2 separate regions of the Homo sapiens genome follow, and region 1 is linked to region 2. Evidence: promoter capture Hi-C in 16 types of primary human blood cells and fetal thymus (Javierre and others, 2016). All regions are on one chromosome and are shown on one strand. Each heading gives the region's core, a stretch centred on a gene start or on the middle of the fragment in contact. The rest is flanking DNA. Distances are from core to core; before and after follow the strand shown.

Region 1 (4,552 bases), core at 1,104-3,603, 110 kb before region 2:
CCGGCAGAACCTCTCAGCAGCAGGTGAGCCTCGTAGCTTGGGGGCCCGGGCCGCCGACCTCCCCAGGGCCCCGCCCACGCCGACCCTGGGTCGCTCTGCGGCTGCGCGGATGGACGGGGCGCTCGCCCCACAGGCGCCAGGCGCTCCGGCCGCAAGGGAGCAGGGAGCCCTGCCAGCTGGGCCACCCGAGGGGCGTTGCGGGGCTCCGGGCGGGGTCGACCCGGGGGGCTCCGTCGGGCCCCACCAGCCTTGCGCCTTTTTCGCTCGGTCTCCTTGGCCTCCCGCTCCTGCGACGCCGCTTTCCTTTTCTCTTGCTCCCGAGCTCGGACCTCGGCCAGGGGCCCCGCCCGCCAGTTGGTCGCCTCCTGCAGCACCCTGGAGGCCCAGGGCCGGCGGGGCGGCGGCTGTGGGGATCCCGGGCGCGGCCCACACCTGGGACAATGAGCAGGAACCCAGGTGAGCAGTTTGTGGGGGAAGGGAGCCGAGGTCCGGGGAGCTGGGAGCACTGGAGACCACTTGGGGCAGCCATGTGAAGGGGTGTGTGTGAGTGTGTGCGCGTGTGCACGTGCGTATATGTTAGGACTGAAGTCGAAGCGGGACTCCTCGCCATCTCTCCATGCACACTTTAACAGCGTCTGCCCCATCTCACCTCCTGCCCTTTCTCACACCCACTTCTGTTCCCCCAAACAACGGGATGAGTCAGGCCCCAGCCCTCGGGAGCGGGCAGAGGTGGAAGGCGTGGGAAAGAGAAGGGGGACCAGCAGTGCTCGCTGGTGCCTGCGGGGAGGTCCGGACCCCACTCCCCGCCCCACCACTCTCTTCCCCTCACCCCTGCTTCACTCACGTGCGGTTCTGGAACCCGCGAGCCCAGTGGCTGGCCTGGAAGTCCATGGGCTGTCGAGAAGGGGCGCGGCGACTATAATGACAGGAAATAGTCTTCACTTCTATCACCAATAGCTTGGACTTCTGCACCCAGAGGCAGCTGCCAGACTCCTCATCCTGGAGCTCCCGGGGGCTGTCAGGCCCCTCGGAGAACAGTGGGCCATCCAGCATCCTGCCCCACCCCACCCCGGCCCCCCACCCTCCCACCCGCCCCAGGAGCCCCCTCCCAGCCCAGGGAGCCGGCGCCCACTGCAGAGCCGCGGGCCCGGGGACTGGGAACTATATATACCCGGGCACACGTGTGTGTGCCTGTCTCTGTGTGTGCGCGCGCATGTGACACCGCGCGGACTGCTCCGCGCTGCTACCTCCCCCATGTGCACGGCCGCCCCCTGGGGCCCGGGATTGGACGCCCCTTCCCACTGCTGTTGTCCCCCAAGCCTGATGGGATCGCACGAGTGGGCGGGGGAGGGACTTATGATTCTTGCCAAGCTGACAGTGCCCCCTCCCCCGCCCCTATTTCTTCAACCTTCCTGCCGTTTTAACCCTTTACTCTCCTGCTTGTCAGGTTGCCTGACCACCAGGGTTCTGCCCCTGGCTTCCTGCCTCAGATTTCAGTTTCCCCAACATAGAGTGATGAGATTGGAACTCAAGGTCTCTGCCTGCCACTCTGCTGGTTTCCATGGGGCTGGGGTGCAGGAGGGGCTGGCCCACGGCTGGGGGGCTATTTTTAGCGGCAGTGGCTGTTCGGGTGCAGAGATGAGATGAGTAACCAGCTCCCATGCGGTGGAGAGAGGAGGCGGTGGCTTTTACCAAGCTTTTGTGCGACTCTGAGGGAGAGCTGCCTTCCCTAAGCTCAAAAAGGGTGACCCCTACACCCGTATCTCCTTGTCAGCTCAGTGCTGCAGCCTAGGACTGCTGGTACAGCAGGACACAGGCGTCTGCCTTGGCCACCCAAGCTGCCCTACCAGTTCCATTCTACATGTTTGTCCTTGGGCAGCCAGGGAGCCCTCCCACAGCAGCAGGCTTTCACCTCCAATCCAGAAGCCAGGATTTGGGGGTTATATTGTTCTGTGCCCACACAGCCTGCCCAGCTTTATGGAGGACAGAGTAAGTGCTTATGCACTCTCACCCTTCCAGAGGGGGATGGAGGAGAAATGATGTGTTTGCTTGGCAAAACTAATCCCCTAGCAACTGAAATGATAAAAGTGGCCTTTATTTTTTTCAATGTAGAACTCCCCCTCACCACCACCACAATGCCTAGTTCACTCAGTCCCCACCTTAAGTGGTGCTCCAGATGCTCACCTTTTGGGCTGCCTCTGTCCTGGGGGGCTGTTGCTTATATCCACATGATCCCTCCTCCTAAGCTTATACCAGGTGTCCCCTGATTCACCATGGTAATGTTAGTGGCAGCACAGCCCACGCCAACCCTTCCATGCAGAGACTTAGCAACCATGCCTGGCAACCATGGCAGCAGCTTCAGTGGAGGGGAGCAGTGCAGAGAGAGGGGAGAGTGTGTGGGGCATGGTTCCTCGGGAAGAAGGGATAATTTGCCTCTCTGGAGAGGAATAGGTAAGAATAGAAGCTTGTGAGTCTCCCAAATTTCATCCCTTGTCTCTCCCTCAGCTTCATCCTCACACTGAGACGGATAGGTTGGGTTTTAGAGGGAAATGGGAGAAGCAAGAGTTCCCAATTAGTTTTCCACTAATGTACATGGAGCCCTTTGGGTCCAGACCCTTCCTTTTAAGGGGATGGGGAACAACCAGAAAGGTTGTGGGGCAGAGACTGACAGACTGAGAAACAACTCAACAAAACCAGGTCTCTGCTCCCTAACACAAACCTTTAGAGAGAACGCAAACATCCCGTCCCATCCACCCTACCCCCCTTGATTCCACACACCTGCCAGCTGCACTGATGACTTGACTCGAAGATGCTTCCTTCCACCCTAGGTCCCACTAGAGTCCTGAGGCTTTTTAAAGCCCTTGCCTCCTCCCTAGGCAAATCTTCCTTAATGAGGGAATGTGACATAAGGGGCCATCTGTCCTTTCCACCATGTGCTTACCCTCCTGACACATAAACATACTCTAATTCTAATAACTTGGAAGCCTTCCTCCCCCAAGGTTGAGAATGTGCTGTGAGAGCTGTAAAGGGGTGAAGGCAGAAGCAGGGGCTCCTCCACAGCCATGATGCAACACTGAAAGCTGAGCTCTGATGAGGGCCACCTTCTTTTTTTAAAATAAGCTTCCTCAGGTCGAATCTGATGAGGGCCTTGATGCTTTTCCCTGTGTTCCATCAGGAGAACCCAGTATGCCCTGGCTGGAGGGTTATCAGAGGGGTTAGGCACTGTGGGGCAGGGGCAAGGAATGACTCCGAAATTGCTCCTGGCTTGGATGGGAAACTGTATCATACCTGCAAGGCTGGGGTGAGCTGGCACCCAAATTTAGCTCATACTCCAGTCTAGCAGTTCTTCTGATGTTGGGTGCTGACTGCTGTTTGGGTCTACATGCTTTCAATACAGGGAATGGATCTGATGGAGTGACCACTGCCCTGCTGTTCTCCCACCATCCAGCTCATTCTCACCTTGGAAGAGGCAAGGGATTTGTAGGTTTAAAGATAGTGCTGGCCGGGTGCGGTGGCTCATGCCTGTAATCCCAGCACTTTGGGAGGCTGAGGCAGGTAGATCACAAGGTCAGGAGTTCGAGACCAGCCTGGCCAATATGGGTGAAACTCCGTCTTTACTAAAAAATACAAAAATTAGCTGGGCGTGGTGGCGCGCGCCTGTAGTCCCAGCTACTCAGGAGGCTGAGGCAGGAGAATCACTTGAACCCGGGAGACGGAGGTTGCAGTGAGCTGAGATTGCGCCATTGCACTCCAACCTGGGCAACAGAGTGAGATTCCATCTCAAAAAAAAAAAAAAAAAAAAAAAAAAAGATAGTGCCAACTCAGCAAAAGCCAAACAGTCCAACCTTCCCCAACTAAGAAAAGCTGATAATGGTGGCAGGATTCTCTGCCCAAAGGAGACCCTCAAGTCTGTCTACTCGTGTGTGTGTACGTGTGTGTGTGCGTACACACGTTATTATTATTGTTAATGACCAGTTGAAGAAGCCATATAAAGTAGGAAGGTAGTACCCATCAACTGTAAAAATCAAACACTGCAATATCGTGAAGAGATTCCTGTCATTTAATTAGATTTGCCACAAAAAGCAATAACCTTAGCTAACCACGCTGCTCTCCTCCTCCACCTAACCCCCATCTCCCTTCATATGCACAAACACAGGAACCCAAAGCCCCTCCTCCCCACAATCCTCCCCACTCACATTATGGGAAGAAATGTCACTAAATGGACTTGGCCTCCTCCATATAGCACGGAACAGGTGAATAAAAATATCTTTATGAAGAATTTTGTTGTGCTATTATCTTAGGGTTGAATCAGGGCCAAGATGGAGGCAGAGGCAAGTGAGGTCTGGGGATCTCTTAGAGATCAGAATTTGTCTGAGAGGCACAGAGCCTATAGTTCACCCAGAAAGGGGGATATATCTAAGAGGACAGGGGCTAGAACTGGCTAGGCTGAAAGTTTTTTCAAGTGTATGTGTGAGGGTAAGGGTAGCTATAAATCCATTCTCTTTCCTCCCCCATACCTTCCCTAGCTCCCAGATAGAAGGGCAGGGGACCC
Region 2 (4,437 bases), core at 1,766-4,265:
AGAACAGAGAGTCTCCGCCAGGCACTGTGGCTCATACCTGTAATCCCAGCACTTTGGGAGGCCGAGGCAGATGAATCACTTGAGGTCAGGAGTTCAAGACTAGCCTGGCCAACATGGTGAAACCCCGTCTCTATTAAAAATACAAAAATTGGGCTGGGCGTTGAGGCTCACGCCTGTAATCTCAGCACTTTGGGAGGCCACAGTGGGAGGATCATGAGGTCAGGAGTTCAAGACCAGCCTGACCAACATGGTGGAACCCCATCTCTACTAAAAAAACAAAAATTAGCTGGGTGTGGTGGTGCATACCTGTAATCCCAGCTACTCAAGAGGCTGAGGCAGGAGAATCACTTGAATTCAGGAGGTGGAGGTTGCAGTGAGCTGTGATGGCGCCACTGCACTCTAGCCTGGGTGACAGAGCAAGACTCCATCTCAAAAAAAATTACAAAAATTGGCTGGGCGCAGTGGCTCACGCCTATAATCCCAGCATTTTGGGAGGCCGAGGCGGGAGGATCACGAGGTCAAGAGATCAAGACCATCCTGGCCAACATGGCGAAACCCTGTCTCTACTAAAAATACAAAAATTAGCCAGGCGTGGTGGCATGCACCTGTAGTCTCAGCTACTTGAGAGGCTGAGGCAGGAGAATTGCTTGAACCCGGGAGGCGGAGGTTGTAGTGAGCCGAGATTGTGCCACTGCACTCCAGCTCTGGCAACAGAGCAAGACTGAGTCTCAAAAAAAAAAAAAAAAAAAAAAAAAGGCCGTGTGTGGTGGCAGGTGCCTGTAATCCCAGCTACTCGGGAGGCTGAGGTACAAGAATCACTAGAACCTGGGAGGCGGAGGTTGCAGTGAGCAGAGATAACGCCACTGCACTCCAGCCTGGGCGACAGAGTGAGACTAGGTCAAAAACAAAACTAAACAAAACAAAAAAAACACCAGAGAGTCTCAAGAAGAGAAGTTATTGTGTTTGAGATAGGCCAAGAATACAAGATCAGTCTCATGGGTCTTCCAGTCTCCAGAAAGGGCTGACCCCACAAGGAAAACACATACAGCTATCTGTACAAGGAGGGAAGAATCCACAGAGACGCAGGAGAGCCATCGATCTAGAACAAAGTCATAGCTTTTGATATTAGGGAAGCAGAACAGAAGGAGCCACTCAGATTGTAGCTGCAAGATTTTTATAGCCTGTGTTCTGCTCTGGGCTTGCGTAATAGCCAGGAAGGTGGGAGGGCTCAAAAGGTCAGGCTGGAGTTCCACGCAGTTCCAAGAAGCTAGGCTGCTCTCTAGCCTCTAGATGAGAGCCAGGTGGGGGAGGCACCATAAGTCTTCAGGCTACCCTTAGCCAGCACTGATGTTCTCAGCTCATGGGACTAAAGGATTAGGGAGACATCCAGGAGGCTGCTTCTGTCCAAGGTCTCATCCCTCCCTGTTCTCTAGGAATTTGAGCCTCCAGCCCGACACTGTCTCAAGGCCTGGGTGTGCCTCTGCAATATGCCCAACCCACCATGTGGACTGTCCACCAAGAAACACACAAGGAAGGCTTGCCGAAAGCACACTTCTACTGGAGTTGCACACACAGACTAATATACTTTCCTGTCCTCACAGATAAGAGCAGACCTAATTATGTCCTGGCTCAATTTACCCCTCCTCCAATCAGGCTGCCCAGGGCTGGCTAGAGCCCAGCCTGAGAAAAATGAAGGGAATGACCCCAACAATGGATTCCCACACTTACTAACATTTCTTTCTGTTTTTCCAAACCATTCCCTTTCCATTTACTATCTGGAGATGAGGGTTGCCCTGGTGAGCTCTGGGGAAGGACACAGGAGAAAGGAGAGAGGTGAAAATTCAAAGCAAGGCTGAGAAAGATATGACACCCTAAGCTCCACTGGGTACCCCTACCCCAGAATTGAGTAGTCCACTTCTGTGCGCAAGGTTCAGTTGTCGCTCTAAGTGGCAGGGAGGGCGTAAGGAACAGCAGCCAGGTACCCTCTGAAGCCCTGGGAGGACCACTCACTGGGGAAACCCCGGAATGGCTGAGAGGCTGGGAACCCAGCCTTGCAGGGTTTCAAACAAACACCAATGAGAAAGAAAAAAGACGGGGGAATACTTGGTTGTTCCTCATCTCTACATATTAGGATCCACCCCAGCAAGACTCCTTTCTTCCAAAGCAGATGACCCACCAAGTCCCCAGGTTCCTCCCGTCTGCCATCCCTACACCTCCCCTCTTTTCTGGAATCAAGCTCAGTGTGACGACGTCTCCCCTTCATCCAACGTCAGCTGAGTTTGCCCTCAACCCAGTTTGAGAAGCAAACCCATCCTTCCCCGATTATCAGACTAAGGCAGACTCCGCAGGCTCTCAGACCCCGGAGACCCCCAACAGGAAGACGCGCTGGGTGAGGGGTGGGAGGGAGGGGCAGGGGAGGGGCGTGTGGGGGAGGAACGGAAACGACGGCCTTTGTTTATCGCTCAGGGACCCAGCTGATCCCATCTAGGGGATCGCTAGCCGGGCACCCGCCCTTCTGCCCGGACGGAGGCCTCCGTCGCCCGCCGCTGGCCCAGGCATGGTTTGACGGCACTCTGAGACCAGGTGGGCTCGGACCCCAACCTCCCCGTCTCCCGCAACCCCCGCTTCTCCTCGCCGGGGCCCCGCACTCACAATACACTCGCGGATCCTCTCGTGGAATAGCTGTTCTCGCACGGATAGCACTTCGTAGTCAGGTGCTTCCATACTCTGCTCAGCATGACTGAAGCCGAGGTGCCTCTGGGCCCGGGGAGGACGAGCGGGGAGGAAGCCGCCGCCGCCAAGCACCCAGACCCAGCCTAGGGGCCTTTCCTCGCAGCCTGCGACAGAAACTCGGGGCAGTCTGGGGCTCAGATACAGTCGTCCGGACGCCCCGCCCTTAAAGGGGCAGGCACCACCCGCCTCGTTTTAAAGGGCTCTGTCCTCCCTTTGCTCCCCACTCTTTAAGGTCGGGTCGCGCTCACGTTTCAATGCAAACACCCGCCACTAGGCTCGCTACGAGGAAGCGCCGCTGAGGGTCCATCTTTTTAAGAGATCTAGTGACGACACAAGGGATGGGCGGGTTCCTTCCAGGGGGAGGAACTCATTGGCTCCTGGAGAGCTGTCGTTCATCGCTGGAGGAGCGCTGATAGGCTCGCCCTGTGGAGGAAGGCGGGATCTTTTGGGCCTACCGCTGCCCATACTAATAGAGCAACTGTCTCTCTTATCTGGGAAAAGTGAAGGTTCCTGGATTTTAGTAGCAGCCAACATTTTAGTATGACCTTGGTTAAATGAACCGTTTGAAGCAGGCCAGCCAGGCAGGATGTGAGGGCACCCTAGGGGTTCTGAAATGTACCGCTGCCCAGTAACCGATGTTCTGTAGTAGCATTTTCTGTGTGTTTGTGTTGGGGTGCCCCTCCCCACATCCCCACCCCGCTTTCCCGCTGCCAGGAGTTTTCATTCAATCATTTTTGTGGAAGACCTAGTGTGTGCTAGAACAAATACTGAAAAATACTGGAGAGAGGACTACAGAAATACCTTGCAACTTTGTGAAGAAATGCCCACAAGGATCACTGAAGAGTGGGGCTGAGTCAAACATTAGCTAACCACTTACTATGTGCCATTCACTTTATAGTCGTTATCTCAGCCATGTTACCCAGGCTGATCTCGGACTCCTAGTCTCAAAGTGATGGGCCTCCCAAAGTACTGGGATTACAAGGCGTGACCCACCCAGCCTATTATCTCATTTTTAACGTCACAACAACACTTCAGAGGAAGATGTTGTGATTCAGCTTTTATTTCTTTATTTATTTTTGAGACGGAGTTTCGCTCTTATTGCCCAGGCTGCAGTGCAATGGTGTGATTTCGGCTCACTGCAACCTCCGCCTCCCGGGTTCAAGCGATTCTCCTTCCTCAGCCTCCCAAGTAACTGGGATTACAGGCATGCGCCACCGCGCCCAGCTAATTTTGTATTTTTAGTAAAGACGTGGTTTCTCCATGTTGGTCAGGCTCATCTTGAACTCCCAACCTTAGTTGATCCGCCCGCCTCGGCTTCCCAAAGTGCTGGGATTACAGGCGTGAGCCACCACGTCCGGCCAAGATTTTGTGTGTGTGTGTGTGTGTGTGTGTGTGTGTGTGTGTGTGTGTGTGTGTGTGTGTGTGTGTCTTGGAAGTAGACAGGATTTAGACGAAGGGAGATTTTCTTTTAAGTTATTTATTTTTGAGACAGTCTCACTCTGTCGCCCAGGCTGGTGTGCAGTGGTGCGATCACGACTCACTGTAGCCTCCAACTCCAAGGCTCAAGTGATCTTCCCATCTCAGTCTCTTGAGCAGCTGGGATCACAGGCAGGCACCAGCACACTTAGCTGATTCTGCCATGTTGCTCAGTCTGGTCTTGAACTCCTGGGCCCAAGCTGTCGGCCTGCCTTGACCTCCCAAAGT

Evidence for each region. Contacts are between HindIII fragments. The CHiCAGO score rates a contact against its expected background, and 5 or more counts as called.
Region 1: a contact is called between a fragment that was not itself captured here and the fragment with the promoter of LMBR1L in region 2, in 1 of 17 cell types (naive B cells). The highest score is 5.6, in naive B cells.

What each region holds. Positions count from the first base shown.
Region 1 is chr12:48,998,235-49,002,786 of GRCh38, forward strand. It overlaps DDN (dendrin), which reads right to left and starts at 1,141. Exons shown (of 2, transcript NM_015086.2): 1 at 845-1,141; 2 at 1-432. The coding sequence starts at 1,053. It overlaps DDN-AS1 (DDN and PRKAG1 antisense RNA 1), which reads left to right and starts at 113. Exons shown (of 2, transcript NR_147179.1): 1 at 113-456. It overlaps PRKAG1 (protein kinase AMP-activated non-catalytic subunit gamma 1), which reads right to left. Exons shown (of 12, transcript NM_002733.5): 12 at 4,040-4,552. RefSeq lists silencers at 1-422, 1,072-1,366 and an enhancer at 1,512-1,806. The HindIII fragment of the contact is 218 bases long and covers 2,245-2,462 here.
Region 2 is chr12:49,107,832-49,112,268 of GRCh38, forward strand. LMBR1L (limb development membrane protein 1 like) reads right to left here and starts at 3,016. Exons shown (of 17, transcript NM_018113.4): 1 at 2,653-3,016. The coding sequence starts at 2,724. RefSeq lists an enhancer at 2,185-2,724 and a silencer at 3,582-3,762. The HindIII fragment of the contact is 30,486 bases long and covers 1-4,437 here.